Regions from separate parts of the Homo sapiens genome. Here regions 2, 3, 4, 5 and 6 are each linked to region 1. The links are contacts of gene promoters, found by promoter capture Hi-C in blood cells and fetal thymus (Javierre and others, 2016). All regions are on one chromosome and are shown on one strand. Each heading gives the region's core, a stretch centred on a gene start or on the middle of the fragment in contact. The rest is flanking DNA. Distances are from core to core; before and after follow the strand shown.

Evidence for each region. The method cuts DNA at HindIII sites, captures the fragments that hold promoters and counts their contacts. A CHiCAGO score of 5 or more calls a contact.
Region 2: a fragment that was not itself captured here is called in contact with the fragment with the promoter of FAP in region 1 in 5 of 17 cell types (total CD4 T cells, fetal thymus, naive CD8 T cells and 2 more); the score reaches 7.2 in total CD4 T cells.
Region 3: a fragment that was not itself captured here is called in contact with the fragment with the promoter of FAP in region 1 in 2 of 17 cell types (non-activated CD4 T cells and activated CD4 T cells); the score reaches 6.3 in non-activated CD4 T cells.
Region 4: the fragment with the promoter of PSMD14 here is called in contact with the fragment with the promoter of FAP in region 1 in 2 of 17 cell types (M2 macrophages and M0 macrophages); the score reaches 7.7 in M2 macrophages.
Region 5: a fragment that was not itself captured here is called in contact with the fragment with the promoter of FAP in region 1 in 4 of 17 cell types (activated CD4 T cells, fetal thymus, total CD4 T cells and 1 more); the score reaches 6.2 in activated CD4 T cells.
Region 6: a contact is called between a fragment that was not itself captured here and the fragment with the promoter of FAP in region 1, in 7 of 17 cell types (naive CD8 T cells, naive CD4 T cells, total CD4 T cells and 4 more). The highest score is 8.9, in naive CD8 T cells.

Annotation. Positions count from the first base shown.
Region 1 is chr2:162,240,394-162,245,057 of GRCh38, forward strand. FAP (fibroblast activation protein alpha) reads right to left here and starts at 3,052. Exons shown (of 26, transcript NM_004460.5): 1 at 2,929-3,052; 2 at 2,515-2,599. The coding sequence starts at 2,934. The HindIII fragment of the contact is 18,804 bases long and covers 2,702-4,664 here.
Region 2 is chr2:161,563,799-161,568,621 of GRCh38, forward strand. It overlaps the pseudogene MTNAP1P1. Among named protein-coding and RNA genes, the nearest start is that of SLC4A10, 58 kb to the right of the region's middle. The HindIII fragment of the contact is 2,220 bases long and covers 1,393-3,612 here.
Region 3 is chr2:161,625,957-161,630,757 of GRCh38, forward strand. All of the region lies in intron 1 of SLC4A10 (solute carrier family 4 member 10), which reads left to right. Among named protein-coding and RNA genes, the nearest start is that of SLC4A10, 3.9 kb to the left of the region's middle. The HindIII fragment of the contact is 818 bases long and covers 878-1,695 here.
Region 4 is chr2:161,305,224-161,309,982 of GRCh38, forward strand. PSMD14 (proteasome 26S subunit, non-ATPase 14) reads left to right here and starts at 3,202. Exons shown (of 12, transcript NM_005805.6): 1 at 3,202-3,381. RefSeq lists an enhancer at 3,070-3,529. The HindIII fragment of the contact is 7,205 bases long and covers 880-4,759 here.
Region 5 is chr2:161,599,967-161,604,483 of GRCh38, forward strand. No RefSeq gene overlaps it. Among named protein-coding and RNA genes, the nearest start is that of SLC4A10, 22 kb to the right of the region's middle. The HindIII fragment of the contact is 1,521 bases long and covers 2,003-3,523 here.
Region 6 is chr2:161,583,813-161,588,177 of GRCh38, forward strand. No RefSeq gene overlaps it. Among named protein-coding and RNA genes, the nearest start is that of SLC4A10, 38 kb to the right of the region's middle. The HindIII fragment of the contact is 4,673 bases long and covers 1-3,792 here.

The DNA of each region.
Region 1 (4,664 bases), core at 1,802-4,301:
GAGCCTTTCTCTTTTTTCTTTCCTTTAGACGTGATGTGAAATAACACAAATCCTTCTCTGGTATCTGTGGTGCTGACCATGCATCTTTGGGTGCAGAAAGCACTGGATTCTTACTCCCCAACTTGCAGAGGGAATTCTAGACTGCTGCACCTCCATATCCTCAGCAACTGGCATGATGATGAGCAGGGAGTTAGTAGAACTAATACACTAATATGTAAATGAATGAATGAATGTTTCCTGAGTGTGGCTTTAAGTTTCTCAGAAGAAGACAGTTCATACACTGGTGCATAAAATTCTGGGCTGAGGATATGAGGGCACCTAAGGCAAATGTGAAGTAATGGGATTTCTGATGAATGTGAGAAAGAGGCTAAGTAGGAGCTCGCTTAGCTTTGAATTCTCTGTTCTTTTTACCCCTTCCTCCTTCCCTTTCCTGCCTTGCCATCTCAGATCCTATTCTCATAGGCACTGGGCAGATGTGAGAGTGAGGACTGGACCTGGCACTCCAGACGGGAGATGATTGATTGACCAGTGAGATGTGAGAAGAAAGGAGGAAAATTAGGAGGCCACCACGCCTAACTTCAGGGCTGCCTGTGGCACTGACTTCCCCGGGTCCTGCTCAGGAAAGTAGGGTAATGACTAGTGCCATTCACAAGCTGTTTAGCTGACATTCTGAGAAGTTATTCAGCAAATTTAGAAGAGAAAGAGAATGATATAATGAACCAAAAAACAACAGTTCTCACCTTATTTATGATTTTTCTATTTCTGAATGAGTACTCAAATTTCACTGAGTACTTGAGTTTAATTTGATTATTTCACCCTATCAAGAAATCACTTTATTCTTAGAATTTTCCTGTTAGTTGAAAATAGAATTGTATTATAAATTACATAGGACTTTTATACTATATATAGTTTACGACGTATATTTATATGTAAGCTATACATAACTAAACTTGGAAAGAGGGTAGGGATTGAGATTATATGTGATCACACAAATATCTGTGTATGTGTATCTCTATACATCATTTGTAAATATGTAAATATAATGCATTTCTTATTAGAAATTATAGCTTGAATTCCATAGTGAAATTCATCCTTCCCTATGGACATGGAGGCAAGTGCCCTATAAAATTAACAAACTTTTGTTCCAAGAACATTTATTTCTGAGGGTGCAGAGTATCAATTTCAAGGTTGAGTTTCTTTAAAAATCAGGAGCTAATTTTTAATGAATTAACATTCAAAGGATCTATATGACCTAATCCACTACCTGACAATTGCTGGTATGAGGGAAATGTGGCCCCAAGACCACTGAGTTCAGAGATGAGTCTGAAAACAATTTTAACATGAAAATTTATGAAAGATATGTACACACACTACATACCTCTCAACAGCCTAAGAAGAATCTTGTGCTGGCAGAGAGCAGAAACAAAGACTGAAATTAACACTGAAGATATCAGCTGACTTCATCTTATGGGTTAACCTATTCTATTTTGTAATTCTGTGAAAATCTCATGATTATTTTTAATTTTCGAAAACATTTTTCTATGTTCTTTTTAATAGCAACAGTCCAGTCATTCAGGACTCATACATTCTTTAGCTGAAGTTATTTTATTGATCTTCATTTACTATCAGTTAACTTTTAACCAAGATATTTCCCACATTTGTTATCATAAACTTTTAGTATTTATTAGTACAAATTTTTCCCCTTTCCTAGACACAAAGACATAAGACCTGTTATTACTGGATTTTTTTTCCATTTCAGAAGCTTGAGTTTCTCTTCATAAATATTTTCATAAAAAGCTATTTCCCTAATATCACTAGATTATCTATCAACATAGTCCTACTTTATATTTAAACTAGCTCTGATATCAGCCCATAGTACCTTCCAATTTTTAGCAAAGTGAGATCAGTGTCAATCTAAGCCTTTTTTGTAAAAGGATCCAATTTATGACTGATCAAAATGCTTGCTTAACAATGTTTGGTTTTCTAATTTGATGTGCAGTGCTACTACATCTAAAACAACAACTTTGCTTTTTCTATACAGCTATTCCTGAGATCTGTATTCTCAACTTCCTCCCTAAATTTTTGGAAAGACTATTTAGTAATAAAAAAAGTCCATAGATTCTGTTTTAACTTTTCCATTCTTACTCATTTTTACTTTCCACGAGACAAACCTAATAATGAAAAGCAATGTTAGTTAAAAATGTTGTTTCTAAAGGCCTGTCAAAGCTTGTATTTAGCATATATTTTTGGGGGTTGTGGGGGTGATGCAGCATAGTTCTTAGGTTTTTCTATTGCTGAAATAACACTGTAAATCTCTTCCTACCCATGCCTTAAATTCCTCAGTATTTCTGGTCTTGCACAACAACATATCTGTGAGCTTATATGTCTTCTTAGAAATAACAGACTTACTTTGGAACATAAGCACTTAGGAAATGTTCAACCACTTGTGATCTTGCATTAGTACATTTTCCAAGCTATTCTAGGCAGATAGAGCAAATCAGAGAAAGTTCTTACCTCTTGAAGGGCGTAAGACAATGCACATCACCAATAAGGCAAGCACAGCAGAGGTGGCAACTCCAAATACGATTTTTACCCAAGTCTACATAAAATAAAGAGAATTAGGCATACACACAGTTCCTGCTAAATAGTAGAAATGGCAAGATTTTGTTTACACCTAAATCCTTTTTCTCTCGCCCCACAAAGCTTTTGATTGTTTTCCACTGATCCGGCTATAATTGCTGGAATTCTTCCAGCTCTGCAAGGACAAATGTTTCTACAGTATATTTAGAACAATTTTCCAATCCCAACCCATTGAGGAAGTAAATACTTATGTACAAATCTTCACCTTCTAAACAATAGAAAACTCTGATCACGTTCAATCCAGCCAACCCTAATTTTTTAAGAATACTTGAGGTTGCTTATACTAACCTTCATTTTTCCAGATGTTTTTGAAAGTTAGCTAATTCTGTCTTCAGAGCGTGGGTCACTGGATCTGTGAAAACCGTTGAAAAGGACCAAGTCTGTCTTTGTAGTTGGAAGCTGAAGCCAGGACAAGGTTTTTTTCTTTCCACGGACTTTTGAATACCGTGCCAAGTTTCAAAAGATTTCTGTAAAATTAGAAACAGATTTTGGGGGCGTTCTTGGCCCTCAAATGAACTGTGAGTGACTCAAGGGAAGTTTTATAGCCTTCTCATCCTTGTAACTACACCAACATCTGCTTACGTTGACATACAGAGGTTTTTATTTTTTCTTTTTTACCAGTTCAGGTTTATGTTGCATTTTCTTCTAGAATTCACTGAAGGATCACTTTAGCAAGTCATTGGGTTTTGCATAACATTTTTATTTGCCACTAAAAGATGAATTTAAAATAATGAAACTTGCAGGTCTGTACATTAAACATATATCTACTTTTTAACAGAGGAAGAACATTGAAGCCACATAAGATTTTGTGAGAAATGTGCCATATAACTGCACTTTTTTTTCCTCTGGAAGATTATGAGGTATTGCAGACAGAAATGTTTTTCTTTCAGCACAATTTCTTTGTCCATATAGCACCATATGCACTTTCAGTAAATACAGAAGTTTAAAAATTCAACTGTCTAAACCCACGGCTGCTTTACTTTAAAGAAATAAAATGCCATCTGGTGAAATTTAGTATGGGTTAGGTGTGTATGCACAGGCTAGAAAGATGGAAAGATCAGTAAGAATAATTTACCAGCAGACCTTTGGAAGAATGGAAATGGCTTTACAAGAGTGGTATTTTTGCTTTCCTCTCAGAATATCTTCTGAGAGAGGAGAACATCTAGTAATTATAAAGATTTAAAAATAAATAAAAAAGCATCTGAAAAGAAAAGTAAATCTTATGTATAATTTCATTTTGGCTAAATCTACATAATTCCAAAGAAATTGGTCATCTTGACAGATTAGTAAAATGGTTGACTGAATTAAAAAAAATACACATACAACAGTTTCTTGGAGTGTTCTGTCTGTTTTAATGCAATTCACTTGGATAGATTTTGTGGTTCCACGTAAACACAGTTGTTAAATCTACTGTGTCCTTAATTTTTCCACTAATGGTTTTCTTTTTTCGAAGTTTATAATGTTCCCAACCTGATTAAAACACTTCATGGCAACCTTTCTTGGATTGTACATGAAAGGTAATGGGGAAATGTTACCAAAACATGTTGCTGTTTGCCTTAGTCAACTTCTCTGGCTACCACGGGACACTTTCTCCAGCAAAGAGCAGGACAGTGGCTTGTGAACTTCCTTTCAGACATTCTCCAGACATCCCTCCCTGAATTCCAGCCTTATGAAAATTCTGTTGAGGAAAATGAGTCATTAGGCACTTACTGGCAGAGAACTGTATTCCTGGTGGCTGGGGCTGGGCCCTCTCCTTTGCTGTTGGTGGAGTCACCTCTTTACAAAATGAAGTAATCATTAAGAGTAATATCCAAGGTGTGCTATACACTTGTAGGTATCTCCAAGTGATTGTGAAATCCTCAGATCTCAGATAAAAGCCAGCAGCCAGGTCCTGAATGAACTGTTTCTGTGTAAGTCCTCTCAGATTGATTGTCTTCTCTGGAACACACCGTGTTCTCAGAAGTTCTGCCCTAGCCTGCCAAAGCCCCAGAGTACACAGGCACTTTTTAGTGGGTGATTTCCAA
Region 2 (4,823 bases), core at 1,253-3,752, 680 kb before region 1:
GGTCCTGGGATTTCTTTTGGCAGTTTTTTAAAATGACTTTGAAATGCCACTTAATGTTTTTCTGGCCTGTAAGGTTTCTTCAGAAAAGTCCACTGTTAGTCTGATGAGAGTTGTTTTTTTTTTTTTTTTAATAGATGACTAGGTGCTCTTCTCTAGTCAGTTTAAAAATTCTTTGTTTCACTTTGACTTTAGACATTCTTAATATAATATGCTATGGGAAGTCCTTTTTGTAATGTATTTGCCTAGGGATGGCTGGACCTTCTCTATTTGGATGTCAACTTTCTTGATAGACTTGGAAATTTTTCACTGATTATTTTCTAAAGTAGGTTTTCTAAATTTGATCTCTCTGCTCCCTTGGGAATAATGATAATACATAAGTTTGGTCACTTTGTGTAGTCCCAGATGTCTCAAAGCCTTTTTTAATTCTTTTATTTAGTTTTTTCCTTATTTTTGTCTGACTGGAATATTTCAAAAGACCTGTTTTCAAATTTACAAGAAAAAAACAAACAACCCCATTAAAAAGTGGGCAAAGGACATGAACAGACACTTCTCAAGAGATGACATTCATGTGGCCAACAAATATATTTTAAAAAGCTCAACATCACTGATGATTAGAGAAATGCAAATCAAACCCACAATGAGATACCATCTCATGCCAGTCAGAATGGTGATTATTAAAAAGTCAAGAAAGCGCAGATGCTGGTGAGGCTGTGGAGAAAAAGGAACACTTTTTCACTGTTGGTGGGAATGTAAGTTATTGTGGAAGATCTAGAAGCAGAAATAACATTTGATCCAGCAATCCCAATACTGGATATATACCCAAAGGAATATAAATCATTCTATTATAAAGATAAATGCATGCATGTGCTCATTGCAGCACTATTCACAATGCAAATATATGGAATCAACCCACATGCTCATCAATAATAGACTAAACAAAGAAAATGTGGCACATATACACCATGGAATACTATGCAGCCATAAAAAAGAAATGAGATCATGTCCTCTGCAGGGATATGGCTGGAAGCCATTATCCTCAGCAAACTAATACAGGAACAGAAAATCAAATACCACATGTTCTCACTTATAAGTGGGAGCTGAATGATAACAACACATGGACACATGGGGAGGAACAACACACACTGAGGCCTCTCAGAGGGTAAGGGGTGGGAGGAGAGAGCATCAGGAAGAATAGCTAATGGATGCTGGGCTTAATACCTAGGTTATAGGTTGATCTGTGCAGCAAACCACCATGGCACACATTTACCTATGTAACAGACTGCACATCCTGCATTGGTACCCTGGAACGTAAAATAAAAATTGAAGGAAAGAAAAAGATTTGTTTTCAAGTTCTGAGATTTTTTTCTTCTGCTTGATCTAGTCTATTATTGAAGCTTTCAAATGTATTTTGTATTTTCTTCAATGAATTTTTTACATCCACAATATCTGCATTTTTTTAAAAGATATCTATTTCCTTGGTAAATTTCTCATCCATATTCTGAACTTTTTTGTACTGTTTTTCATATTTCTCTTGCACCTCATTGAGCTTTGTTAAAATCAATATTTTGGTTTATTTATCTGGCATTTTGAGGCATTCTTTTTTATTTGGATCTGCTGCCATGCAATTGTTGTGTGGTGTCAAAAATCCCTACTTTTTCATGTTTCCTACGTCCTTCCATTGATATCTGTGCATCTGGTATAGCAGTCACCTTTTCATTTTTTTGTTCACATTAATAAAAAATTTACTTTCTATATAATTGTTACAGATTTCAATAATTTTATTCTTTTCACTCCCTCTTCTTGCTCTAAATGCCATTTTAAATTATTAACTATGTATTGAAGTCAGCTCCATTGTATGCCCCTTGTAGTTCCAAAGATTTCTTTTTCTTTCTTTTTTTTTCACTTATACTTTAAGTTCTAGGGTACATGTGCACAATGTGCAGGTTTGTTACATATGTACACATATGCCATGCTGGTGTGCTGCACCCATTAACTCGTCATTTACTTTAGGTATATCTCCTAATGTTATCCCTCCCCCTCCCCCCACCCCACGGCAGGCCCCGGTGTTTGAAGTGCCCCTTCCTGTGTCCAAGTGTTCTCATTGTTCAGTTCCCACCTATGAGTGAGAATGTGCGGTGTTTGGTTTTCTCTCCTTGTGATAGGTTGCTGAGAATGATGGTTTCCAGCTTCATCCATGTCCCTACAAAGGACATGACCTCATCATTTTTTATGGCTGCATAGTATTCCATGGTGTATATGTGCCACATTTTCTTAATCCAGTCTATCATTGTTGGACATTTGGGTTGGTTCCAAGTCCTTGCTATTGTGAATAGTGTCACGATAAACATACATGTGCATGTGTCTTTATAGCAGCATGATTTATAATCCTTTGGGTATATACCCAGTAATGGGATGGCTGGGTCAAATGGTATTTCTAGTTTTAGATCCTTGAGGAATCGCCACACTGATTTCCACAATGGTTGAACTAGTTTACAGTCCCACCAACAGTGTAAAAGTGTTCCTATTTCTCTACATCCTCTCCAGCACCTGTTGTTTCCTGACTTTTTAATGATTGCCATTCTAACTGATGTGAGATGGTATCTCACTGTGGTTTTGATTTTCATTTCTCTGATGGCCAGTGATGATGAGCATTTTTTCATGTGTCTGTTGGCTGCATAAATGTCTTCTTTTGAGAAGTGTCTGTTTATATCCTTCACCCACTTTTTGATGGGGTTGTTTGTTTTTTTCTTGTAAGTTTGTTTGAGTTCTTTGTAGATTGTGGATATTAGCCCTTTGTCAGATGGGTAGATTGCAAAAATTTTCTCCCATTCTGTAGGTTGCCTGTTCACTCTCATGATAGTTTCTTTTGCTGTGCAGAAGCTCTTTAGTTTAATTAGATCCCATTTGTCAATATTGGCTTTTGTTGCCATTGCTTTTGGTGTTTTAGACATGAAGTCTTTGCCCATGCCTATGTCCTGAATGGTATTGCCTAGGTTTTCTTCTAGGGTTTTTATGGTTTTAGGTCTAACATTTAAGTCTTTAATCCATCTTGAATTAATTTTTGTATAAGGAGTAAGGAAGGGATCCAGTTTCAGCTTTCTACATATGGCTAGCCAGTTTTCCCAACACCATTTATTAAATAGGGAATCCTTTCCCCATTTCTTGTTTTTGTCATGTTTGTCAAAGATCAGATGGTTGTAGATGTGTGGTATTAAAATCTAGAAGAAACGAATAAATTCCTGGACACATACACCCTCCCAAGACTAAACCAGGAAGAAGTTGAATCCCTGAATAGACCAATAACAGGCTCTGAAATTGAGGCAATAATTAATAGCCTACCAACCAAAAAAAGTCCAGGACCAGATGGATTTACACCCAAATTCTACCAGAGGTACAAGGAGGAGCTGGTACCATTCCTTCTGAAACTATTCCAATCAATACAAACAGAGGGAATCATCCCTAACTCATTTTGTGAGACCAACATCATCCTGATACCAAAGCCTGGCAGAGACACAACAAAAAAAGAGAATTTTAGACCAATATCCTTGATGAGCACTGATGCAAAAATCCTTAATAAAATACTGGAAAACCGAATCCAGCAGCACATCAAAAAGCTTATCCACCATGATCAAGTGGGCTTCATCCCTGTGATGCAAGGCTTGTTCAACATATGCAAATCAATAAATGTAATCCAGCAGATAAACAGAACCAAAGAAAAAAACCACATGATTATTTCAATAGATGCAGAAAAGGCCTTTGACAAAATCCAACAACCCTTCATGCTAAAAACTCTCAATAAACTAGGTATTGATGGAACGTATCTCAAAATAATAAGAGCTATTTATGACAAACCCACAGCCAATATCATACTGAATGGGCAAAATTGGAAGCATTCCCTTTGAAAACTGGCACAAGACTGGGATGCCCTCTCTCACCACTTGTATTTAACATAGTGTTGGAATTTCTGGCCAGGGAAATCAGGCAGGAGAAAGAAATAAAGTGTATTCAATTAGGAAAAGAGGAAGTCAGATTGTCCGTTTGCAGATGACATGATTGTATATTTAGAAAACCCCATCGTCTTAGCCCCAAATCTCCTTAAGCTGAGGAGCAACTTCAGCAAATCTTAGGATACAAAATTGATGTGCAAAAATCACAAGCATTCTTATACACCAGTAACAGAAAAACAGAGAGCCAAATCATGAGTGAACTCCCATTCACAATTGCTTCAAAGGGAATAAAATACCTAGGAATCCAACGTACAAGGGATGCGAAGGACCTCTTCAAGGAGAACTACAAACCACTGCTCAATGAAATAAAAGAGGACACAAACAAATGGAAGAACATTCCATGCTCATGGATAGGAAGAATCAATATCGTGAAAATGGCCATACTGCCCAAGGTAATTTATAGATTCTGTGCTGTCCCCATCAAGCTACCATTGACTTTCTTCACAGAATTGGAAAAAACTACTTTAAAGTTCATATGGAACCAAAAAAGAGCCCGCATTGCCAAGACAATCCTAAGCCAAAAGAACAAAGCTGGAGGCATCACGCTACCTGACTTCAAACTATACTACAAGTCTGCAGTAACCAAAACAGCATGATACTGGTACCACAACAGAGATATAGACCAATGGAACAGAACAGAGCCCAAAGATTTCTTAAGTGACGTCCAGGTCAACACTACTTACACCAGTACTGCAGCTTCAGATGCATGAAACTCCAGCTACAAAATAGGATGAAGTATCCTTTAAAGAGCACTGTGATACCACTGACTCTACTCTTCTTTATGGTGGTATTGCACTTAGTCCAGCCTTTTTGTAC
Region 3 (4,801 bases), core at 37-2,536, 620 kb before region 1:
GTGGCATCAAAGTGGAGTTATAAAAAAATACGTGTAAAAGATTTGTCTATCTTCCCAAACTTGAACAAATACATAAATTAGGATTCTGTTAGTACTCAGAATAAATACTGTTAAGAATACCAGGGAACTCTTCTTCCCTGGATGAGAGACGGGAACTATACACAGGAATCGTGGTATGGGGATTAGGGAAGGTTTAGGGAAACCCCCAACCCTTTTTTTGGCTGGCAGTGGGGGTGGGGTGGGGTGTTGGAACCTGTCCTAGAAAAGCAGGCTAAAGCCAGTTTGATGTGGCTTATGGATTGTCACTTGTGGGGAACAGTTAAAGGGTTTAGGACCAAATGAGGATTAACTAGAGGAATTTAAAAGAGGATGACATTACTGGGCTAGATGGGCAACCAATTTATAGCTTAAAAGAGCAGAGAAAATACAAGTCTTTCCTGAAAAGAAGGTCTACAATACATCTGATGGAAATTTTTGAAGGCCAGAGTCAAAAGTTTGCATGTCATGGGGTTAATGGTCAGTACAAAATAGTGACAGTTTAATGGTAAGAGGGAATCATATTAGCAGATCATCACAAGAAAAACAAGCCTGAGGGGCTAGAGAGGATGCTGAATTACTGGTCCAGTTTTATACTTGTATAGCAACTCCCCCAGTTGCTTTTATGAAAACCTTTTTTGTTTAATTTTCAAAACAAACATGTTATGTAAAGCAGATTTTATTATTTTCATTTTCAAGGTGAGAAATTGAGGCACAGGGAGTCTGAATAACATGTCTAAGATCACCCAGTGATGAAACCAGGACTAGAATTTAGGTCATCTAAAACTAGTTCAGAAATTGTTTTAAAAATTCAATATTTTTTACATTACATTCTTAACCAAGCTTAACATGATCAGTTCCTGGGCTGAAGTTTTTACGCTTGGAAGAGAGCTCTGGGCTCTGTTTTAGAAAATTAATCAGACGACTTTGCAAATAATTTTGTGAGAGGCAATATAGCATAATATTTAGAACTCAGTCAAGGCCAAACACTGCTATTTATTTGTTATATGATATTGGGAAAGTTATAAGTTACAGTTTCTTCAACTGAAAAATGAAAAGGGAATGTTATTATATATCTCTTGAGTTTTGGAATCAGTTAAATAACTTATATGAAGTTCCTGACATTTAGTAAGTGTTCAATAAAACTTGCTATTATCATTGTCAATGTTGCTGTAAAATGAATATATTATTGCTATATTCATCTCAAAGTAGATATTGAGAGGATGTATAGGTTTCAGGTTTTTATGAGAAGTGGCTTGTCAGTACTTTCTACCAAGAAGGAAAAATGGAAAATGGAGAACTGGAAAAGACTCTTCATAGTGGAGGTGGGAGGTGGCGTTTTTTAGTTATAATTATGAAAACTTTGCAGTATGCTTGGAGAGCCAATTGGACAGGCATTAAAAGCCAAGATTAGATATGGGACAGAAGCAGTCAGAGGTAGAAAGATAGGGAAGTGAAAGAGAAAGGAAAATAAGAATAGATAAGTATGTCAAATGAGTGAATGTATTAATCCTGACTCAAGTGAAATGGAGGAACAGATTCTCATTAAGCCTCCCAGGGTTTACCTCCATTTAGTATAGTATATATAAAGTACATTTGAAGGATACGGGCAGAGGAGGCCTAGATATGTTTCTCTTTTTTTCCCAGTCCTTCTTAGGAAGCTTCAGTGATAATTTCCTTTTGCTGGACAAGCCATCATTGCATTTTGTAGACTCTAATCACTCCAAGGGTTAGGGCGTTCACTCTTGTTGGCTAAGTGTATAGTCTGGTTTTGGTAACAACTGACTGCTATGTCTGAAGTTACAGAAAAAGTGTGTCAGAAAGATGTGTTCTCTTAAGTGCCTACTGTTGGCCAAACACATTCTTGGTGCTGGAGATGCAGCAATAAATAAGGCAGGCAAACACCCTATATATGTGAAACCTCACACTCCAGCTAGACTAGAAATAGGACTCGATTTAACTTTTTAAGAGACTGCTGCTTTCTCTTCAAAATATTTAATAATTGTTATAACCTTTTTGATATGGATATATATGGAGAATATATGTAACAGTAATAATGGTGATATCATTTTAGTAAGAATGGAATTAGCCTTTTAAAAGTATGAAGCCTGATATTTAGGATTGCATTATGATTTCACATTTTCCTTTGATATTCAATGTTGAATTTGCTTTTAGGAGTAACCTAACAATTTAAAAATTATCAGGCCATGGAAGAAGCTTCCAGAAGAATATATAACTTATATTTATATCTCATGACGTTTAATCTTGGGTGATCTACAGTGAGTCTACTTTGGATCCCTTCTAAGATTCTGATGTCTGAAAAAGGACTTAAGTTGAGCTTACTCATAACATTTCCCTAAGGTATAAAACTACAGTAAAGTTCACTTTTAAAAGATAATTTGATGATATAGGATAGATGATTGGATTTAGTACTTTTAGAAAATGCTAATTCCATATTTCCAAGTGGCCCAGTTTATTGAATTGTTTTATTTGTGGAAAAAAGTTATAAAAAGTCTTTAATGTAATTAAATCAGGGAAAGAAAAATGGGACTAAAATGTCAAAGTAACAAAAAGAGCACATGGAATGGCTAAGTAATATTGTTTTTTCTATTCAATTTGCATTGAAATTTAAATTATAATCTGAGTTTAAAGAAAACATACTCACTACACCTTGTAGTCAGTAGGAAGCAAAATGCAGTATAAGAAATTAATCCCCGTTTCTACTTTCATGATTTGAATTGTTACTCTAGCATGGTGAGTGACTATGGAAATAAAATATATGTATAAAATGCTAAGGTTGGGAATGAGTGGTAGAATCTGAAGGCTATAAGTATTGAGTTTACTTATTTATTAATATTATGTTTATGATAAAAATATTGAGATCAGATTAGGAAGTGGGCTAGTTTATGATGAAGAGTTAGAAAATATCTGGGCCAAGGTCTGGAACTCAAAATACAGTCAGAGAGCATGGTCAGAATACAATGATACTTCCAATATATCATTTCTTTCTAACCTTGAATGATGGTTGCTTCAGAAGTCTAAACTGGGCATGAATAGATTGCAGTGTATTACGATGGCCCGCAAGTAAATGGAGAAATGTGGATGCCACTCTCAGCCCTTCTGTGAGAGAGACTTCAACTCTTCCTTTCCCATATCACATAGGACACATGACAATGATCATTTGACTTCCTGTGAGGACACCATTGTCAATCTATATAGTAAATATTAGTTAAGTTTTATGTTTTATTTTTAGGTAAAATAAATTTAGATTGAAGTTTTAATATATTCTCGCACCACAAACAGTTGTCTCAGATACTCTTTGGGGTGTACTACTTTTTTTTTTTTTTAGAAAAAGGGAATAATTTGTGTGTGTTGCATCTTTTATGGAATTATATGTATATATATTTTAATGGGTCTTATTTTTGAGAGCGATATAGGTTCGCAGCAATATTAAGCAGAAGGTACAGAGATTTCCCATATATCCCCTGCCCCTTACACATACATAGCTCCCCCATTAACAAGATCTCTCACCAGAGTGGTACATTTGTTACAGTTGATGAAACATTATCACCCAAAGTCCACAGTTTGCATTAGGACTTGGTGTTGGACATCCTATAGTTTTGAACAAATTTATAATAACATGTATCCACCATTATAGTATTATACAGAGTCATTTCACTGCCCTAAAGATCCTCTGTGCTCTGCCTATTCATCCCTCCCTTTCCACTAACCCCTGGTAACCACTGACTTTTTTACTTTCTTCATAGTTTTGCATTTTTTAGAGTATTATATAGTTGGAATCACAGTACATAGCCTTTTCAGATTGGCTTCTTTCATTTAGTAATAGGCATTTAAATGTATTTTCATGACTTGATATCTCATTTCTGTTTATCACTGAATTATATTTCATTGTCTTGATGTACTACAGTTTATTTATCCATATACCCACTGAAAAATATCTGGGTTTCCTCCAAGTTTGGCATTTATGAATAAGTCTGGTATAAACATCCATGTGCAGATCTTTGTGTGGACATGTTTTCAATTTCTTTGGGTAAATACTAAGGATGTTATTACTGGATTGTATAAGAGTATTTAGTATTTTTAAAAACTGCCAAGCTGTCTTTAGTAGTGGCTGTACTACATGCTATTCTCATGAGCAATGAATGAGAGTTCCTCTTGCTCCACACACTTACCAGCATTTGGTGTTGTCAGTTTTTTATACGTTGTCGGATTGATTCAGTAATATTTTGTAGAGAGTTTTTGCATTCATGCTTATGAGGGATATTGGTTTGTAGTCTTCTTTTCTTATAATATCTTTGTTTGGTTTTGGTATTAGGGTGATGGCCTCACATACTGAGTTAGGGAGTGTTCCTCCTTTCTATTTTCTGACATAGATTGTTTTGGAAGGTTATTCATTGTTGACACCCCATTATTTTTAATAGATAGATTCATATATATTTTGACCACAGGATTGTAGAGATCAACTGGAGTCTAGATTTTAGACTGGCTCCTTAATTTACGGATGATGGAACTGGACATCAAAGACATAAAGAGATATATTTAAGGGCATGCTACTTATGATGCTAGTTAATGGCAGAACTCAGCCTAGAGTCCAAATCTCTTGATTATTCATTTATCATTCTTTCCACTATTATATAGTCTCTATTACTAGCATAGCATCAACGGCTGAGTTCCAAATTAAAATGGAAATTAGGCAGTTTGTAAAGTAATAATAGATATTGTCTCAGGCTCATGATAGGTACAA
Region 4 (4,759 bases), core at 1,952-4,451, 940 kb before region 1:
CTTTTGGCTTTCATGGCATCAACTGTAAATCTTATGGAGGATTATGTGATGAGTGGCTTCTCTCTTTGTGGCTTTTCTTCTTGAAAGTGGCCACTTTCAAGAGTCTCTCTTTGCCCTTGACTTTTAATCGGTTAATTACAATGTGTTGAGGTGTGGATTTGTTTATGTCACTTGGCATTTGTTAAGCTTCTTGGATGTGTCGATAAATATTTCTCATTAAATTTAGGAAGTTTTTGGCCATTCTTTTATTCAAGTATTATGCCTGCCCTTTTCTTTTTCTCCTCTCCTTCTGAAACTCCCATTACGCGCACGTTGGTGTGCTTGATTGTGTCCCACAGGACTTTGAGGCCTGTTGATGTTTCTTCTTTCTCTTTTCAATCTGTTGCCCAGACTAGATCATCTCAACTGACCTATATTGAAGTTTGCTGATTTTTTTTTTCTCCCTGCTCAAATCTGGGGTTGAGCCCCTCTAGTAAACTTTTCACTTTATTATACCTTTTTGTTATTTTATTTTTTTTTAAAAATTTAAAATTTGTCTCCGTCATGGCATATTATACTTTTTAACTCCAGAATTATTTGGGTTTTAAAAAATGATTTGTCTTTATCATCTATTTGATGAAACATCTCATACTTTCCTCTAGTTCTTTAGACATGGTTTCCTTTAGCTTTGTAACATATTGAAAATATCTGATTTAAAGCCTTTTTATCTAGTAAGTCCAGCATGTAGGCTTCCTCGGGTGAGTTTCTATTGATTAATTTTTATCCTGTGTATGAGCCATACATTCTTGTTTCTTTGCATGTATCTTAACTATTTTGAAAACTGAACATTTTAAATAATATAATGTGCAACACTGGAAATCAGATTCTACCCGCTCCCCAAGCTTCACTGTTATTTCTGTTTGTTGTAGCAGTTGTTGATTTAGTGACTTTTCTGAACTCATTCTTTTTTTTTTTTTTTAGAGATAGGGTCTGAGTTGGTGACTCAAGGGATCCTCTGGCCTTAGTTTACCGAGTAGCTGGGACTACACGTGTGCCACCGCACCTAGCTTATGAATGAATTCTTTAAAGTCTGCATTGTTTATTGTGTGTGACCACTCAGGTTTCTGCTCAGTTAGCTTAGTGGTCAACTAATGATTAGAGAGACAGGTTTTCTTAAACACCTTCAACCAAAAAATCTCCCAGTCTTTCCTGAGGGGTTTAGTACTTACGTTGGGACAAGCCTTCAACAATCAGCCAAGCACTTTACATTAGGTTGGTACCAAAGTAATTTCGTTGAAATGACAAAACCGCAATTTTTTGCACCAACCAACCAAATAATTCTGCCTTAGCCTTCACTTCTTGCTTCTGTAGTGCCTCAAGGTCACCCAGAGGTTAGAGCTCAGGGCCTTCTCAGGCCTATCTTGAGTGTTCACATAACCCTAGACATATGCACACCCTAAGCACCTTCTACAGTCTCAGGAATATGTTAGCGTTTTTCAAAGCCCTATGGACATCTTATTCCCCAGCTAAATACTTTAGTATGGCTGGAGCAAAAGGTGCTCCAAACAAAGTTTAAGGGTTTTTTTTTTTTTTGACCTTTATAATGAATGTTATGGGGAGCCACTAGTGGAATTTTAAATAAAGAAGGAGCATGACTACATATAGCACAAAAATTTTTACCAGTGAGGTGGAGAATGGATTAAAAGGAATCAGACCGAAGGCGGAAAGATCAAAGAGCATTCTAAAAAAGTAGCCTGGGGAACATGGTGAAATCCTGTCTCTACTAAAAAAATAAAATAAATAAAAACATAAATAAAAATTAACTGGGCATGGTGGCAAGCGCCTGTAGCCCTAGCTACCTAGGAGGCTGAAGTGGGAGGGTTGCCTGAGCCCGGGGACGGGATGTTGCAGTGAGCCCAGATGGCGCCACTGCACTCCAGCCTGCGTGACAAAGCAAGACCCTAACTCAAAAATGCATTAATAAATAAATACATATAAAATAAAATAAAATAAAAAAGAAGTGAGGAAGGTCTGAGTTAAGGCCAAAGTGGGGAGTATTTAGAAGGGGAAGTGGTGGATTGGAAAAGCTGTTATGGAGATTACACATTTCATGGTTTCTACAGTGGGGAGAGATGAAAAAGAGGCAAGTGTTCATACTCTTAAGTTTCTGATTAGGAAAATTATTTGGAGGACGGGGCTACTCACCCCCTCCTCCCATAAAAAATGAATAGAGAGGCATAGGTTTGGGGGGGAAGCATAAAGATGTGGATCCAAATATTACCTATGAGTAAAATAATCTTTGTGTTTTTAAAGGTATTAATATCTTAAAGCAATTGTGCTACTCAAATCACAGTTTGGATCCAGGCGCTGTAATCTTTCCTCACCCTCTGTCCAGTAGATTCATCACCATTCTCGATTTAGGAATGCTTTAAAGATGCTTGTTATTTGGAACATATTTGAGAAAGTGACAGGAACGTGGCAAACAAGCTGCCTTAAACAGAGACTGTACCTAGACCTAGAGTGTAATATCAACTTGTCAAGTATATCTTCTGCAACTTTGCTTTTTGAAAGCCTAGCACAAAGTAGATCATGAGTAAAATGTGATTGCCGATAATTACATGGAGAAATGTGAATAAATGACTCTTTAAACCCTGTAAACTAAACTCGGCTTAAAATAGGTGGTTTGAACATTTGGGAAACCTTAGTTTTCCCTGAAATCCAATCCTTGCAAAGCAATAATGACAAGAGGTGGATAAAGCGGACTTACAGAAAAGGGCGTCTTACCGGTCCCCTCTAATCACACCATCCCCCCTCTTTTAAAAAAATTTTCTTCTCAGATAACCAAGTTAAATCTAGCTCAAATGAACCTTTTAGTTTTTGAGGAGGGCAATAATAGTAGTGAACACCAAAACGAAAGGGGATCTGGGCTTCAAAATACTAACAGTTCTATTTCCTAGCCAGTCGTCTCCCGGGCTGGATGTGCCGCCGTCCCAGATCTCAGCGGCGGCCGCAGAGCGCAGAGGTAGGGAGAGAAAAAGGAGGCGTCGGCGGGGCGCGAGCGACCAGGGCGCTAAGTGCCGCCTCACAGTCCTGCCAGAGACAGGAGACGCCGGGCCGCCCGCGCCGTCTGTCCCAAGAGCTCCTCCTGGACATCCGCTTGACTCTCCGTCGTCTCCAATTGGCCGTCGGGGAACGGAAGCCGAAGCAAACTAGTGAACCCGGAAGTGCTTCGCGGCGGAGGCCCGGGCAACTCTTTTGAATGGAATCGGGCTGATTCATCGCCGGTTTGCAGACAGAGCCGCGTCGGGTGTGCGCCGCTGCTGCTGTTGCCTCTGTCTTCGCGTCACCACAGAGGCAAGACAAGGGTCCATATCGCGGCATCCGGCTCCCGCCCGTCTTCAGGTAAGACCCAGAAGGCAGGCCTGGGAGGTCTGGGGAGGCAGCCGTGCTAGGCCGCCGCCAGCCCCGTGCTTTCCTGAGTCACGTTGCCCAGCTGAGTTGCCACAGGAGGCCTGGGCCGCGAGGGAGGAGCCCGGCCTCCTTCATTCTCTTCGCCTGCTCTCAGGGCTCTCTGGCAGGGTCAGGTCTGGATGTCGCCTCCTTTCTCCATTCTTTTCTGTTTGGCCGAATTCACATCATGGGAACCTCTTCCATCTATATAGAGAGAATCCTTGTTTATGGCCTGTTTGTCTGTGCTCTATCCATAGTTGTTAACCGGTCTGCTTTGAAGTTTTTCAAAGCAGACCGGGAAAACAAGGGAGAGAGAGTAGAATTAACTTTCCCATTGAATACGTTTGTTTTATCTCTTGTCCTTCCTGTAAGCCTTAACCCTTTTTCTGTTAGTGTTAGGTTTTCAGCTCCCTCCAAAAAGTAAACAAAAGTCCTGCAGATACACTGCTTTTGGACCTTGAATATCTTAAAAACAAAGTGTGCTACTATGGCTGTTAACTTACTTTCAATATCATACTAATTGAGTAATTGTTGGTAAATTGATTACATTTCTCGTTTTAAGTAAAGTAGAAATCTGCTACCGTATGTTACATCTTGCAACTTAATTTTCCTGGGGATGTAGCTCTGTGTCTGTCAAAAGAAAAAGAATGTAAACTTTTGAGTCTATAAACCTAGTGACTGAAGGAAAAATTCTCGAGAAAATAAATGGTAATATAAGTTGATAAAATATTATGGAAAGGCAGGGGAAAGGGTTTAAAAATGAGCATAAAATAGAGTTATAGTGTGAAAGTGATTTTGTTCCACTGGTCACAAGTGTTTTTTTAGTGCTTCTGACTTAATGTGTTTGAGAAAAGCAGCAAGACATGCACTGATACTGTAGAAATAACAAAAACATGAACACAGTTTTAGTGGAGATGATTAATATAATGGTGGCCTTCCTGTCACGTAAGGCTACCTACCAGCTGACTCATTTGAAGTTTAGAGGTTAAGATATATAGTGGTTCTGAATTAACTACAGTTAAGGTGTGTTTAGTGAAGTGCTATTTAGTGAAAAAGGCTAAATGTTGTCTTGAATTTGTCCCTAAATCTTGCCAAGGGAAGAAAGTTTTCAAGTGATGATCTTTTATTGATGCTTCACCTGTTGACTTTGGGAGTTTTTGGTTTTTTGTTTTTTTTTCAGCCTAAAGTGCTTGGTAAATAATACATTGCCATTTTAATTTAGGCCGGGTGCGGTGGCTCACACCTGTAATCCCAGCACTTTGGGAGGCTGAGGTGGGCAGATCATGAGATGATCCAGCCTGGCCAAGACTAGCCTGGCTAACATAGTGAA
Region 5 (4,517 bases), core at 1,513-4,012, 640 kb before region 1:
ATATTAAGAAGTTCAGTTTTACTAAGTAAAGCTACACTGTTTTCCAAAATGATTGTGTCAATTTCCATAGTCAGCAGTAAAGAATGAAAATTCCTGTTGCTTCATATCCTTCCCAACACTTCGTAATTTCTATTAAATTTTTTCTTGCCAGTGTTGTGGATATGAAATTGTACCTTCTTTTAATTTGCATTCACTTGATTACTAGCAAGGCTGAGCAGCTTTTGTTATATTTACAGGCCATTTGTGTTTCATTTTTGGAGAAATTCCTGGATTTTGCCCATTTTTTAAAAAATTGGGTTCTGCTCTTTTAGCAATTCTTTTTTTTAGATACTAATTTTTTTGTCAGTAATGTGTTACAAATATATTCATCAGGATCAATTGCAGTCATATATGTGGCTGGAGAGTGGGCAAAGAAGTATTAGTAAAGAAGGCTTTTCTCTGGAGATGAAGCATTTTAAGGTCTTTCATTTTTGAGTGTGTGCCTCTTTCCTAATCTCTGTCATGATTTGGAGCCAACTTTCTTGGTTTCTGCTTTGCTTCTCTCTCCAGTTCTTATATATAGATTAGGAGCCATGCCTTCTCCTTTCTTCCTGCCGCTACTAATCTGGTGGGTCTCCACTTTGTTTAAATAACTATCATAGCTTTATCACAGTGAAAATCGCCTAAGTATCTGCCTTGTGTTCACAAGAAGGGAGATGAGAAGAGTGTATCTTAGTCAGCTTATATCAGGTAGTCTTTAAATTTACTGTTGATTTGTCTAGTGGTTCTCAAATTGTTCTGCACTTTGGAATCACCCTGGGTCTTTAAAAAATACCTATGCCTGGTTCCCATCCTGCTATATTCTGATTTAAATGGTAAGGCCTGTGACCTGCACAGAGGCATTGTTTAAAAAGCTCCCCAGGTGATTTTTAATGTGCACTGGATTAGTCCTTCAGACTTAAAGTGTTATATGTGAACCAGTAGCATTCCTATCACCTGGGAGGAGCTTTTTAGGACTGCAGGATCTCAGGTTTCACCTCAGAATTTGTATTTTAGTAAGAACCATATTTAATAAGAAATAAGTGCATTGTGTTCATATTCAGGTTTGACAAATGCTGGCTTGTCTACTGTCGGCTTTTGCTTGGATTGTTAACCCAGAATTTTTCTTGAAAATCTTTAAGAATGCTACCTTCTCAGTAGCTCTCAGCCACACCTACTTTGGTTGTGGTTTTTCTGCTCTGATTGCTCTCTTTTTCTGATCCCATTAGCTTTTGGCTTCCAGAAAATCCTCACATTTCTCATCCATTCTCATCCTCATATTTTCTCATCCATTCTCATCCATTCTTCTCTGTTTTGTAACATGGTTATGGATTTATTCTTTTCTTATGTTTTCTCTCATTTCAGTGGAATACTTTTGAGGAAGACAATGTTGTTACTATAGCAATACTTCCCAAAGTGATCTACATAATTCATTGCAATCCCTATCAAAATTTCAATAGCCCTTTTTTTTTGCATTTATGGAAAGGTTGATCCTCAAATTTATATAGAATAATAAGGGATTCTAAATAGCCTAAACAATCTTGAAAAAAAACCAAGTTGGAGGACCCATACTTTCACATTTCAAATTGACTACAAAGCTACAGAAATCAACACAATGTGGTACGAATATGAGAATAGACATATGTCTATATAAATGTAATAAATTGAGAGTGTAGAAATAGACTCATACATATATGGCCATTTGACAAAGATGACCAAGTATGTCAAAATCATTCAATAGAGAAAGAATAGTCTTTTCAATAAATATGCTGGGGCAACCAGATAGCCACATATGAAAGAATGATATTTAACTCTTGAGAAATTTAATCCTCATGTATTACTGGTGGTAACTTAAACTGATGGAGCCAGTTTGAACAATAGTTTGACAGTTTCCCAAAAATTACATGTAGACTTACCATATGACCCAGCAATTCTACTCTTAGGTATATACCTCCGCCAAAAGGAAAATATATCTTTAGCTAAAAGCTTGTCTGTAAATTCTCATAACAGCATTATTCAAAATAGCCAAAAGTGGAAACAACCAAAGTGTTCATTAATTGATGAATATAATTGATGAATTACATGAATAAAAATCCATGTAATGCTGTGTTATTCACTGATAAAAAGGAAATGAAATAGCTATACATACTACAACATGGATGACCTTGAAAACATTCTGCTAAATAAAAGAAGCCAGACACAATGGCCATATATTGTATGATTCCATTTATATGAAATGTCCAGAATAGGCAAATCCACAGAGACAGAAACGAAATTAGAGATTAGTAGTTGCCAGTGATTAGGAGCGGGACTTCTTTTTGGTGTGATGGAATGTTCCAGAATTAGTGCTGTAGTTGCACAACATTGTGAATATGCTAAAAACTATTTTAAAAGTTAAAACTGGTGAATTTTATATTACATGAACATGATCTCAATAAAAATGTTTCTGATAAAAAGAATGATTTTTTTTTGTTTTTTTGTTTTTTTTTTTTGGTAGAGACGGGGTTTCACCATGTTGCCCAGGCTGGTCTTGAACTCCTGGACTCAAGTGATCCACCCACCTTGGCCTCCTAAAGGTCTGAGATTATAAGCATGAGCCACTGCGCCCACCCAAAAGAATGATGTTTGACTCTTATTTCATACCGTATACAAAATTAACTTAAAGTTAATCAAAGACCTAAAGGTAAGAGCTAAACTATAAAACTTAGAGGAAAGTGTAGGAGTAAATTTCATGACCTAGTGTTTGGCTTTGGCTACTTAGATATGACAACAAAAACACAAGCAACAAAAGAAAAAAACAGATTGGTCTTCATCAAAATCAAAAACTTTTGTTCATGAAAGGACACTATCAAGAAAGTAAAAGACAACCCACACAATCAGAGATAATATTTGCAAATCCTGTATCAGGTAAGGAACTAGTATACAGAATATGTTAAAACCCTAACTACTCAACAACAAAATGACAACCCAGTTTTTAAAATGAGTAAAGTCATAAATAGACATTTCTTCCAAGAAGATATACAATGGGCCAGTAGGCACATGAAAAGATGCTCAACATCATCAGTCACTACAGAAATGTAAATCAAGACCACAATGAGATGTTGTTTTCCACTGCTAGGATGGCTATTTTAAAAAATGGGAAATAACAAGTGTTGGTGCAGATGTGGAGAAATTGTAAACTTCATACGTTGCTAGTGGGAATATAAAATTGTGCAGTTTCTGTGGAAAACAGTTTGGCAATTCCTCAAAAAGTCCTACTTACAGTTACCATATGATCCAGCAATTCCACTCCTTGGTAAACACTCATATGAAATGAAAACAGATGTTCAAACAAAATCTTGTAAACAAATGTTCATAGCACTATTCACCATATCCAAAAAGCGGAAACAACCACAATGTCTATCAACAGTTGGGTGGCTAAGCAAAATACAGTATATGTATTCAATAGAATGTCATTCAGGCATACAAAGGAATGAAGTACTAATTCATGCTACAATAAGAATGAAGCTTGAAAACTTCATACTAACTGAAAGAAGCCAGTCATAAAAGGCCACATACTGTATGATTCCATTTGTAGGAAATATCCAGAATAGGCAGATTCCCAGGGGCAGAAAGGTTACTGATTGCTAGGGCATGGGGTTTGGGGCAAATGAGGAGTGACTGATGAATGGGCATGGGCTTTCTTTTGCGGCAGGGAAAATGTTCTGGAACTAGAAATTGGTGGATGGTTGCACAACATTGTGAATGTTCTCAATGCCACTGAATGTGCACTTTAAGATGACTAAAATGGTGTCTTTTATGTTATATGAATTTTACCTCAATAGAGTTTTCTGATTATAAGATGCCTGAACTTCTTATTAAATTTATTGGGATGAATTGGCTACTTCTTCCTCTTTGTCGTAATCTTTAAATTTTGCTTTAAAAAATTGTGATTTGCATAGTAAATAGTTTCTGGGTCTCACTAAATGAGATTAAGCAAATATGCTCTATACTATTATATAAGCTGTAGTCAAATAAAAAACCCTTATAATACATTATGCTGAATTATAAATACGATTATTTCATTAGGTCTGAGTTGCCTATTCATTTATTTTATGTTAAAGGGGAACATACATTTAAAATGTTATTCCTAAAGCAATACTTGGGGTTATAACATTTAATTTCTCACAATTTAGTAGTGTACTGATCCATGTGCTTTCATATTAACTATTTAAGAGTTGCTTAATGAATATTGTACTTAAGTGAAAAATTAAAATATTTTTAATGTTTTTAACAGTAAGTGAATTTACTGTGTAAAATGCTGAACACTGCACATAACATTCAAAGTATAGTTTATATGTTATCACAAATTTGTGCTGAAAAGTAGAAATATGTAAACACTTAAAGTCATTAAATCTTACTGGAACCCAAGTTTTTCCCAGAGAGTTATTACATATTAAAGTGTAAAGTAAACCAAAAATAAAATCTTATAATCAGATTAAAATGTTTTTCAGTTGATA
Region 6 (4,365 bases), core at 206-2,705, 660 kb before region 1:
AAAGTTGTACTATCTTTACTCCTCTAAATCTGTTGCCTTTCTAAGCATGATACCAAAGGCAAATATCCTGAAGAAAAGAGTGATAGATTTTACTACAAAAAATTTAAAACTGTCTGCCAAAATCCACTATAAACAAGATTGAAAGGCAACTGACAACTCGGAACAATGGGAGCAACACATATGGTGAACAAAGGGTGAAAATCCTTATAAAGAGCTCTTAAAATATAAGAGCATATTGCACATACCAGATCATCTTTTCATCTGGAGAGCTAGGTACTCTTATTATCTTTATTTTATAGATAGATAAAGAAGTTAAGGCTTAAAGGGGTCTTACAGTTAGTCATGAGTGAAAGATTCAAACCTGGGTTGTCTGACCCCAGAGTCTGTACTCTTAACCACTAAGCTACACTTCCCTCCATTTTTACAGGTGGCCAGAGACATCAACAGGCAATTTGCAAAGACACCCAATGGCTAGTAAACATATAATATTTATTTTCTCTCTGGAAAACAAATAATGGAAATGAAAATAACTAGAGAACATTTTGTCTATCAAACTGACAAAAGTTTTAAACAATGGTTATGTTCATTTTTGGCAAGATATGGAAAAACCAGACAATTGGTAAATCCTTTCATTGGGAAAATTACCCACAAAATCCCTTAAAACTCAGTTATAGTTTTTAACATTGTAATTTAATTTTTAGTTATGAATCCTGAGAAAATAGTTGTGTATATGTGAGATTTAGTTATGATGATGTTAACTCAATATTTGTTTATAATGCTAGAAACTGTAGACAACCAAAATGTTCAACAATAGAAGACTGATTAATTAGCATACATCTATAAAATGGAATGCCAGTAGTTGTTTAAAGTGATATTTTAGAGTTGTTTGGGCCGGGTGCGGTGGCTCATGCCTGTAATCCCAGCACTTTGGGAGGCCGAGGCGGGTGGATCACCGGCGGTCAGGAGTTCAACACCAGCCTGGCCTGGTGAAACCCCGTCTCTACTAAAAATACAAAAATTAGCCAGGCGTGGTGGTGCGTCCCTGTAGTCCCAGCTACTCAGGAGGCTGAGGTAGGAGAATCACTTGAACCTGGAGGAGGAGGTTGCAGTGAACCGATATCGTGCCACTGCACTCCAGCCTGGGAGACAGAGTGAGACTCTGTCTCAAAATAAATAAATAAATAAAAATAAAAATAAATAAATAAAGAGTTTTTGATGGCATTTTATGTGTTAAGGGAATAAATCAGATCATTAACTCATTAAGATTCCATTTAAAAATTGCACGTTATTGTATTGATAAAACACTGAAAATGTTTTTATGAAAATATTAACTGATTTTCTCTAGTTAGAATATGAGTGGGTCTTATTTTTAATTTTCCAAAGTTTCTACAATAAAGAAATTTTATTTTTTTAAAAACATAAAAGTTACCAGCCAGGCATGGAGGCTCATGCCTGTAATCCCAGCACTTTGGGAGGCTGAGGCAGGTGGGTCACCTGAGGTCAGGAGTTTGAGACCAACCTGACCAACATAGTGAAACCCCGTCTCTACTAAAAATACAAAAATTAGCTGGGCATGGTAGCGGGCACCTGTAATCCCAGCTACTCAGGATGCTGAGGCAGGAGTATCACTTGAACCTGGGGAGGCGGAGGCTGCAGTGAGTGGAAATCGCGCCATTGCGCTCCATCCTGGGCAACAGAGAGGGAGACTCCATCTCAAAAAAAAAAAAAAAAAAAAAAAAAGAAAAGGTTACCAGAAAGTTTCTTTAATTTACTTCTTTTTGCATGTAAGATTTTAAAAAAGTATAATCACAGATTTACAAGAGAAAAAATTTTGATCTTTCCATCCTTTTCCACATGGTGGATCTTTATTTTAGTCTTCTAATGGATAGTTGTCATAATGTTATTCCTGGGTAAACTTGAATGATGTTTTATTTATTATTTCCATGTGAATTTTTTTTGACTCTTTTTTTGGCCATAGTTTTATCATTATTTCTTTTCTTTAACTTCTTCCCATTTATATTTGCCGATTTCTACTCTTTCTAATATATTTCCTATATTCTGTTTTTTATTAGAAAAACTCCAATTTTTTAAAATTTTTAAACAATAATTTTAATTTATTTTAGAGTCAGGGGTTACATGTGCCTGTTTGTTACATAAGTATATTGTATTATGCTAAGGTTGGGGTACAAATCATCTCATCCCTTGGGTAGTGAGCATAGTACCCAATAGTTTTTTGGCTGTCTCCCTCCCCCGCTCCCTACTCTAGTAGTCCCCAGTATCTATCGTTGCCATCTTTATGCCTATGAGTATCCAGTGTTTAGCTTTTAAATTCATTGCTTGTTAATAAAATATACCAGTGTTCAAAATTTTCTTCTTTTCTACGGAATAAAAATTTTGCAAAATTGGCATGAAATTTGTTGTGCAAAATGGAAGATGCCAGCTTGCTTATTTTACTTTATATTATTTAACAGAATTAAGATTACATAACCTAGTTCTCAATAACTGGTGGTATTTGTTGATAAACTTCTATTGATATGTTAATTTTCTGTTAACGTGGGACTTATTAGTTACGTCTCGTTCCTGAATTCGTGAAACCTCCCCTCCCCCAAACAAATGCTCTCTCTCTCTCTCCTCTTCTTTCAGTAAGTCAATTTATATTTGGAGACATGGCACAGTAGTAGATGATTCAAGCTGAGAAAGAACGAAAAAAAGATCTCTGGCACTCATTCCTTGCTTTCGTATGAGCTAGCTCCCGACAGGTATCTAGTATATGCTGAGTTTCCTGTCTTTCTCATATATATCAGGCAGAGTAAAGCAGGTAGGAATCAGAGGCCTCAAATTAATGTCTGTAAATCCTGAGGAAATATTTTGAGGCTGCAGTAGACTAAACGATGCTAGATTTGGTTTGATTTGCTGTAATTCTATCATTTGAACACTAAGTGGCACTAAAGCCTAGGTCACAGATAACATATTGTCAATTTAAATTCTAAGATTTGGGGTCTATTGGTGGGTAAATGGCTTTGGAAAAGTGAAAAAAGGATTAGTAAGAAAGTATTCTGAGCTTAAAGAAAGACAGAAAAAATAGTTTTACAATCAGTTATTTTTGGGAACTGGAAGTTTAACCAAACTCTCTTGCTTTTATTTGCAAGTTATTTAAAAGCAAGGAGTAAACCGCTCTTAAAATGACCAAAGATGATTAACCTCACTGGCACCTATCCTTGAATATTTTCCCTTTTTCTTTGAAGGGAAGGAAAATCTATACTTAGAAGAAGGTTTTCAGATGGAAAGCACCCATATGCACGTTGAACCTTAAGCTCTTGCGTACCCATAGATGACAATACCCATAATAAACATTTTTTTCAACGCTTTTGAGACTATTTACTTATACCTATAATATGTATTTTTACATTTGACCTAATTTGGGAAATGTCAGTATAATTTGAGTTAGAAAAAAAGATCAGAATTTGGTTATTTTGGAGAGGAAAGAAAATCATATGTTTTATTGCTTATCTGAACTTTAAAAAATTAAAATAATCTTTCCCAAGATTTATTGAGATATATAATTGATAAATAAAAATATATATGTTTAAGGTATAAAATGTAATGATTTGATATACATATACATTGTGAAATGATTAGTACAATCAAGCTAATTAACACATTCATAACCTCGAAGCTACCATTATTTATTTCCAGCTTTATTGAGGTACAATTGACAAAAATGTATATACGTATGGTGTATGACGTGATATTTTGATGTATGTATACATTGTGAAATGATGACTACAATGAAGCTTAACATATCCATCACCCCACATAGTTATCTTTTTGTGGGGAGAAACATTTAAGATCTCTCATAGCAAATTCCAAGTACGCAATACATTATTATTTATACTCACCATGTTGGACATTAGATCTCCAGAACTTGTTCATCTTGCGTAACTGAAGCTTTGTGTTGTTTGACCACCATCTCCCCATTTCCCCAGCTTCCTAGCCCTGGGGCAACCACCATTCTACTCTCTGCCTCTATGAATCTGACTCTTTTAGCTACCTCAGATAATTGGAATCACGTAGAATTTAACTTCTGTGACTGGCTTATTTCTCTTAGCATGGTGTCCTCCAGGTTCATCCATGTTGTTGCAAATGACAGAATTTCCTTCTTTTTCTAAGGCTAAATGGTATTCCATAGTACGTGTGATATATGGAAAAGGAAGTATATACATACATACACACACATACACACAAACCCCACATTTGCTTTATCCATGCATCTGCTGTTGGACACTTAGACTGATTCCATGTCATGCCTATTGTGAATAATGCTGCAATGAACATTGGAATATAGAAATCTCTTCAAGATACTGA